2 separate regions of the Homo sapiens genome follow, and region 1 is linked to region 2. Evidence: promoter capture Hi-C in human tissues and cell types (Jung and others, 2019). All regions are on one chromosome and are shown on one strand. Each heading gives the region's core, a stretch centred on a gene start or on the middle of the fragment in contact. The rest is flanking DNA. Distances are from core to core; before and after follow the strand shown.

The links. The method cuts DNA at HindIII sites, captures the fragments that hold promoters and counts their contacts. A contact is called where the count stands out against the background at its distance.
Region 1: a fragment that was not itself captured here is called in contact with the fragment with the promoter of KISS1 in region 2 in 3 of the 25 tissues and cell types used here (heart right ventricle, hippocampus and liver).

What each region holds. Positions count from the first base shown.
Region 1 is chr1:203,846,955-203,850,011 of GRCh38, reverse strand. ZBED6 (zinc finger BED-type containing 6) reads right to left here. Exons shown (of 17, transcript NM_001395895.1): 12 at 2,325-2,828; 13 at 1,605-1,681; 14 at 1-301. It overlaps ZC3H11A (zinc finger CCCH-type containing 11A), which reads right to left. Exons shown (of 18, transcript NM_001376342.1): 13 at 2,325-2,828; 14 at 1,605-1,681; 15 at 1-301. Among named protein-coding and RNA genes, the nearest start is that of SNRPE, 13 kb to the left of the region's middle. The HindIII fragment of the contact is 5,303 bases long and covers 1-3,057 here.
Region 2 is chr1:204,194,854-204,197,747 of GRCh38, reverse strand. KISS1 (KiSS-1 metastasis suppressor) reads left to right here and starts at 1,257. Exons shown (of 3, transcript NM_002256.4): 1 at 1,257-1,372. The HindIII fragment of the contact is 9,045 bases long and covers 1-2,894 here.

The sequences.
Region 1 (3,057 bases), core at 301-2,800, 350 kb after region 2:
CCAAGGTCTGTGCTGCACATTTCACATTCAATAATGAGTCTCCAATCCCTGAGGTTTCTACCTCCACCTTCTGGGATGACTTTGTGGGAAGCCGCTTGGTCAGGTGCCGTGTGATTCCTGGCACAGCAGTGAGCACTGGTTTCTCTGCCACTTGGGTATTGCAAGAGGCTACATCTCCCCGAAGAGGTGTCAAGACTGATTTTTCCCTCTCCTGCTGTTTCTGCATGTGCTTCTCTCTCATGGTCTCACATCTCTTGACTTGAATTTTAGTGATGTCAACTCCTGTGGTCTCACCTGAAGCCTGTGGATAAATTTGAATGACAGAATTAAAATCTGGTACCTCTAATAACCTGTATGATGTAAGTACCAGGCTAACATCTAAGTTAAGCAGAATCTCACATGATCCAGAATCTGAGAGAAAAGCTCTTTATTTGATGTTAAATAGACAATACCCTGTTAAAGATGAAAGATTAGAATTACAGATGTATGGAATAATAAAAAACCCAGATTCCACAGGCTAGACAACCATGACTCTAAGTCAAATACTAATGATTCCTAAATAATCAAATACCTGCACAAAGATTTATGTACAAATATATTACTTTAAATTGTGTAAAACAAAATCTGAATGTCCAGAAAAAGACTGTATTTGTATAATGGAGAATCATGTGGTCAGTAAAAACAAACTTCTTGAAGAATTATTAACATGGTAAAGTTAAAGCAGGCTGTAAAATGATACACTGTAGAGTTCTCCATTATGTTCTAAACATGGGTTTAACATTAAACAAATTCACATGCATGCATATATAAACAAAAAGGTCGAAGAAGGCCAAGTGTGGTGGCTCACACATGTAATCCCAACACGTTGGGAGGCCAAGGCAGGCAGATCACTTGAAGCCAGAAGTTCGAGACCACTCTGGACAACATGGAGAAACTCTGTCTCTACTAAAAATACAAAAATTAGTCAGGCTTGGTGGTGCATGCCTTTGATCCCAGCTACATGGGAGGCTGAGGCACAAGAATCGCTTGAACCCAGGAGGCAAAGGTTGCAGTGAACCGAGATCATGCCACTGCACTCCAGCCTGGGCAACAGAGCAAGACTGAAAAAGCTCGAAGAAATCCATGGAAAAGATAATGATGGTTACATCTGAGCTGTATATTTTTAGGGTTTGTTCAGTTTTAAAAAAAATAAAATTTCCAACTTTTGTATGATGCATAGCATTAGAAAAAACTCAGTTAAAAAAAAGTAATGGCCAATTAAACAAAAAACTTTATTTTTTGTATTTTTAGTAGAGACGGGGTTTCACCGTGTTAGCCAGGACGGTCTCAATCTCCTGACCTCGTGATCCGCCCGCCTCAGCCTCCCAAAGTGCTGGGATTACAGGCGTGAGCCACCGCGCCCGGCAAACAAAAAACTTTAAAAGGGCAGCGAATACTGATATACATAGAACTACAGGAAATTCTCATAAGAAATTATAAGTAAAAAGAAAGACTGTTTACCTAATATATGAATGAAGTACTTAGAAATTTATTGTAAGGTAAAACTACCAATTATCTAGCCTTTGTTTGCCATGAACAAAACCATACAATAATCTTAAATTTACCTCTTTAGCTTCTGTTCTAATACTGCTCTGAGAATCAACTTCATTTCCTTCCTGAAGGTTCTTCTCTTCTTTCATCCCTGTATTCACATTAAAGACATCATTAGTTATTTTATTTAAGCTGCAACTTCATGATAGATATGTTAAACAAAACTTTATTTAATGAAAGTAGTAAGACAGGACAAATAAAATTACAGATAAAGCCCATCTGTGCTCCTAAAGTCTCAAAATACACATTAAAATAGCAAAGGTTGGCCGGGCATGGTGGCTCACACCTGTAACCCCAGCACTTTGGGAGACTGAAGCAAGCAGATCACACTTGAGGTGAGGAGTTTGAGACCAGCCTGGCCAACATGCTGAAACCCCATCTCTATTAAAAATACAAAAATTAGCGGGGTGTGGTGGCACATGTCTGTAGCCCCAGCTACTTGGGAGGCTGAGGCAGGAGAATCACTTGAACCTAGGAGGTGGAGGCTACAGTGAGCCAAGGTCATGCCACTGCACTGCAGCCTGGGTGACAGAGTGAGACTCTGTCTCAAAAATAAAATAAAACAAAATAGCATAGGTCTACATAGCACTACTGAAAAACTTCATTTAATTCAGTGTTTTCAACGTTATCTGAGTAAAGAAAGGTTGTCAAACAACTCCTAGGAAGATCCCACGGAACACTCCTCTGGAATATTATGTGGGGACGTGGTACTAGAGACCAAGTTCTCTTGTTACCTGTTCTTTTGGTGATTCGCAGCAGCCGCCTTGCCCCTGGAGTGGCCTCGTGTTGAGACGGGGAGCTGGTGCTGCTCTCAGAGCTCTGCTGCACCCTCAGTGCCTTCTCCAGTTTAATTTCTTCCAGCGTCTTGATGTGCACCTCCTGCATAGACTTTGTTTTACCTGCAGGCTCCTCTGATTGTCCTCTGCTGGCAACAATGGGTGGCAAAACTACTGTTTTTTTAATTTCACTATCAATCTTTAGCTTGATGCAAGTTGTATCCTTTTTGCTTTTTTGTCTCTCTGCTTCCTGCTGCCGATGTTTTTTTTCAGCCAGGACCTCAGAGAAGGTTTTGATACGGATAGTGGAGGAGCTTCTTGCTCCTGAAGTAGAATCATCAGTTTTTGAAGGTCCTTCTGTCTTGAGTTTAGTTTGCAATTCTCCACGTTTCTGACTGGCTCTTTCAAGAAGAATTTCTTCTAATGTCTTCACATGGATCTCACCAACTTTATTAACTTTATCTGTTTTCACAGGAGAAAAACATGTCATTATACTTGAAGTTCATCTCTTACTGACTTATGATCTCTCTATTCTTGGATCAAGACAGTCCAACAGAGAGCTATCATTTAAGCAGGCAATTAAAAGGATCAAAAGGGTAACATTTATTTCTTTTCCTTTTTTTCTTTTTCTTTTTTTTTTTAAGACAGAGTCTCACTCTGTTACCCAGGCTGGAGTGCAGTGGTATAATCT
Region 2 (2,894 bases), core at 8-2,507:
GCTGTCCTCATAGGCTATCATTTCTGTCCTGGTGTTTAACAGCCCTAATGGGTGTGATAATAATATGTTTGCAATCCCCTGTTAACAGTAAGCATCAGACAAGTGAGGGGTGCTAACCTGCAGACTGCCGGCATGCTTCTCCAGCATTAGGGGACGACCAGGTTGAGCTTGTGCTGGGAGAGCGTCCTGTCTGAGGGTAGAGACATAGCCCCTGCCTTCAGAGACTCCCAGCCTGATAGAAGAAACAGTCTCTGCCCTGGAGAGCCCCTTGTCCAAGGGTATAGAGAGTTATTGCAGGCTCAAGAAAGAGACAAAAGTCACTTGCGATGCATGCAGTTAGCAAATATCTATTGAGGGCCCTCTCTGTATGTGCCCAGCAATGGAGTGGGTGCCAAGGGTACAGGGGGAAGGGGGCCTGTCCCTGTCCTCAAAGTGCTGTACCTGAGCAGTCACAAAATAGTATGGTGGTGGGTGCCACGAGACAAGAAGGTGGGGCCCCCAAGCAGGCTGTCTGGATGTGCTGCCACCTGGAAGTCCCCTCTCTGCACCCCTGGCACTTCCCAGGTGCATCCACCTTCTGCAGCTCCCATTTCGTCCTCCTTGCTCATAGCTGGTTGCTTACCTAAGGTCTCTGACCAGTCCATAGCCTATTCACCTCAAAACCCTGCGCTGAGGAAGCGCTCAGTGACCGAGGAAAGAAGGGAAGCAGGAAGGAAGGAAAAAGGAGAGAATCTCTGCCACCACCACCCTGTGCCAGTCACAGGGCGCAGTCTAGGAGCCGCCTGGAGACCCACGCTGACCTGGCTTTCCCTCAGAGCTGGGAGCATGGGATGTGAGGAGCCCCTGGGTCAGCCTGTGCCCTTCTCCTCCCCTCTTCCTGTCGTTTTCTACGTCTAATTCAGACTAGGTGTGTCTGTGGCTCTTCGGAGAGGAAACAAGACATTTCACACTGACACTTCTCCCCACCCTCCTCAGATAGCCCATTTCCACGTTGTTTGGGGGCAGGATGGGTCCTCTGGGTGGGAAGAGGGTGTGGAGGATGGAAAGAGCCGGTAAGAAGGAGAAAGTCCCGCCTCGGAGGGCTCGGGTGGGGCAGGAGGAGAGGCTGCCTCCAGTCACAGAGCCCGGAGGCAGAGGCCTCCCAAGGTGCCATGCTCTTCAGGAGGGTCTGAGGAGGAGGGAGGGGCGGCAGAGTGGGCCTGTGCTTGGAGACGTCACCCCGGGCTTTATAAAAGGGATGTGATCAGGGAGCTGGGGAGAACTCTTGAGACCGGGAGCCCAGCTGCCCACCCTCTGGACATTCACCCAGCCAGGTGGTCTCGTCACCTCAGAGGCTCCGCCAGACTCCTGCCCAGGCCAGGACTGAGGCAAGGTAGGCACACTGCAGTGTCCACCCCTGGGAAGGGGGTCTGCCCTGACCTGGGGATGCTCTGGAGGGGAGCAGGGAATCCGTTCTAAGACGGACAGATGCATCCAGGCAGGCAAAGGCAGGGGAGGGAGACACTGATCTTTCCTGTTTACCAGCCTGGCCAGATTATCCTGGGATGCCTGGGCGAATACACTGAGTCGCACTTTATTTGTGAAGCTAACACTCTGGGGATCCCGAGGGCTCTCTCTTGCTGTGGAAGGAATACATGCAATAAATAAATGCTGTGGCTGGAATTAGAGACCACAGACACGCTTGGATGGACCTAGGGAACCGCTCGGGGCTCTTGAGAGCAATGGGGCTCCTCTGAGCAGCTCCCCCCAAATTACAGATGGCAAATACAAGCCTAACCAAGGGCATCTACCTACCCACTAAGAACTAGGGGCCACTTCACTCCAGAAGCTTTCCAACCATGCCTGGAATTTCTGTCACTCACTGGATACAAACCCCCCAGGGTGGAGGGAACCACAAAAATTGTCTACAGCAGGTCGGCCACTCATGGCCCCTTTCCAAATAATTCATTTCTACCATATATGTTAAGTGCCCCGATGGGCTGGGCAGTGGAATCTGTGTGTGTGTGTGTGTGTGTGTGTGTGTGTGTGTGTGATATGTGTGTATGGGTGTATGTGTGTATATGTGTGTGATGTGTGTGCGCATGTGTGGTGTATGTGGTGTATGTGTGTGTATGATGTACGTGTATGGGTGTATGTGTGTATATGTGTGTGGCGTGTGTGTGCATCTGTGGTGTGTAGTGTATGTGTACGGGTGTATGGGTATATATCTGTGTGGTGTGTGTGCATGTGTGGTATGTGTGGTGTATGTGTGTGTATGATGTGTATGTATGGATGTGTGTATGTGTGTGTGTATGTTGTGTGTATGGGTGTATGTGTGTATATGTGTGTGTGGTGTGTGTGCGTGTGTGGTGTGTGTGCATGATGTGTGTGTATAGGTGTATGTGTGTATATGTGTGTGGTGTGTATGCGTGTGTGGTGTGTGTGGCATATGTGTATGTGTGTGTATGGGTGTATGTGTGTGGTGTGTGTGGTGTATGTGTGTGTGTATGATGTGTGTGTATGGGTGTATGCGTGTATATGTGTATGGGTGTGTGCGTATATATGTGTGTGGTGTGTGTGTGCATGTGTGGTGTGTGTGGTGTATGTGTGTGGTGTGGGGGGTGTGTGTGTGTGTGCTGGGGTCAGGCAGAGTTGTCCCATGGCGCACATGGTAAGTGCCATCCACAGTGGGAAGGAGGCACTCGGGGGGAAAGGGGAGCCGGAAGAAAGAGTACCACCCTCCAACCACACAAGCCCACTGCCCTCCTTCCTGGCCCACCACCCTGCTTCCGCACAGAGAACCGGAAATGTACATCTACCCACATTCCTGTCTGGCTCAGACCCCTCCAGGATGAAGCCCCTGCAGGGCCCCTTCCCCCAGCCTTGTCACTAGCTTTCTCTCCATGCAAAGCTCC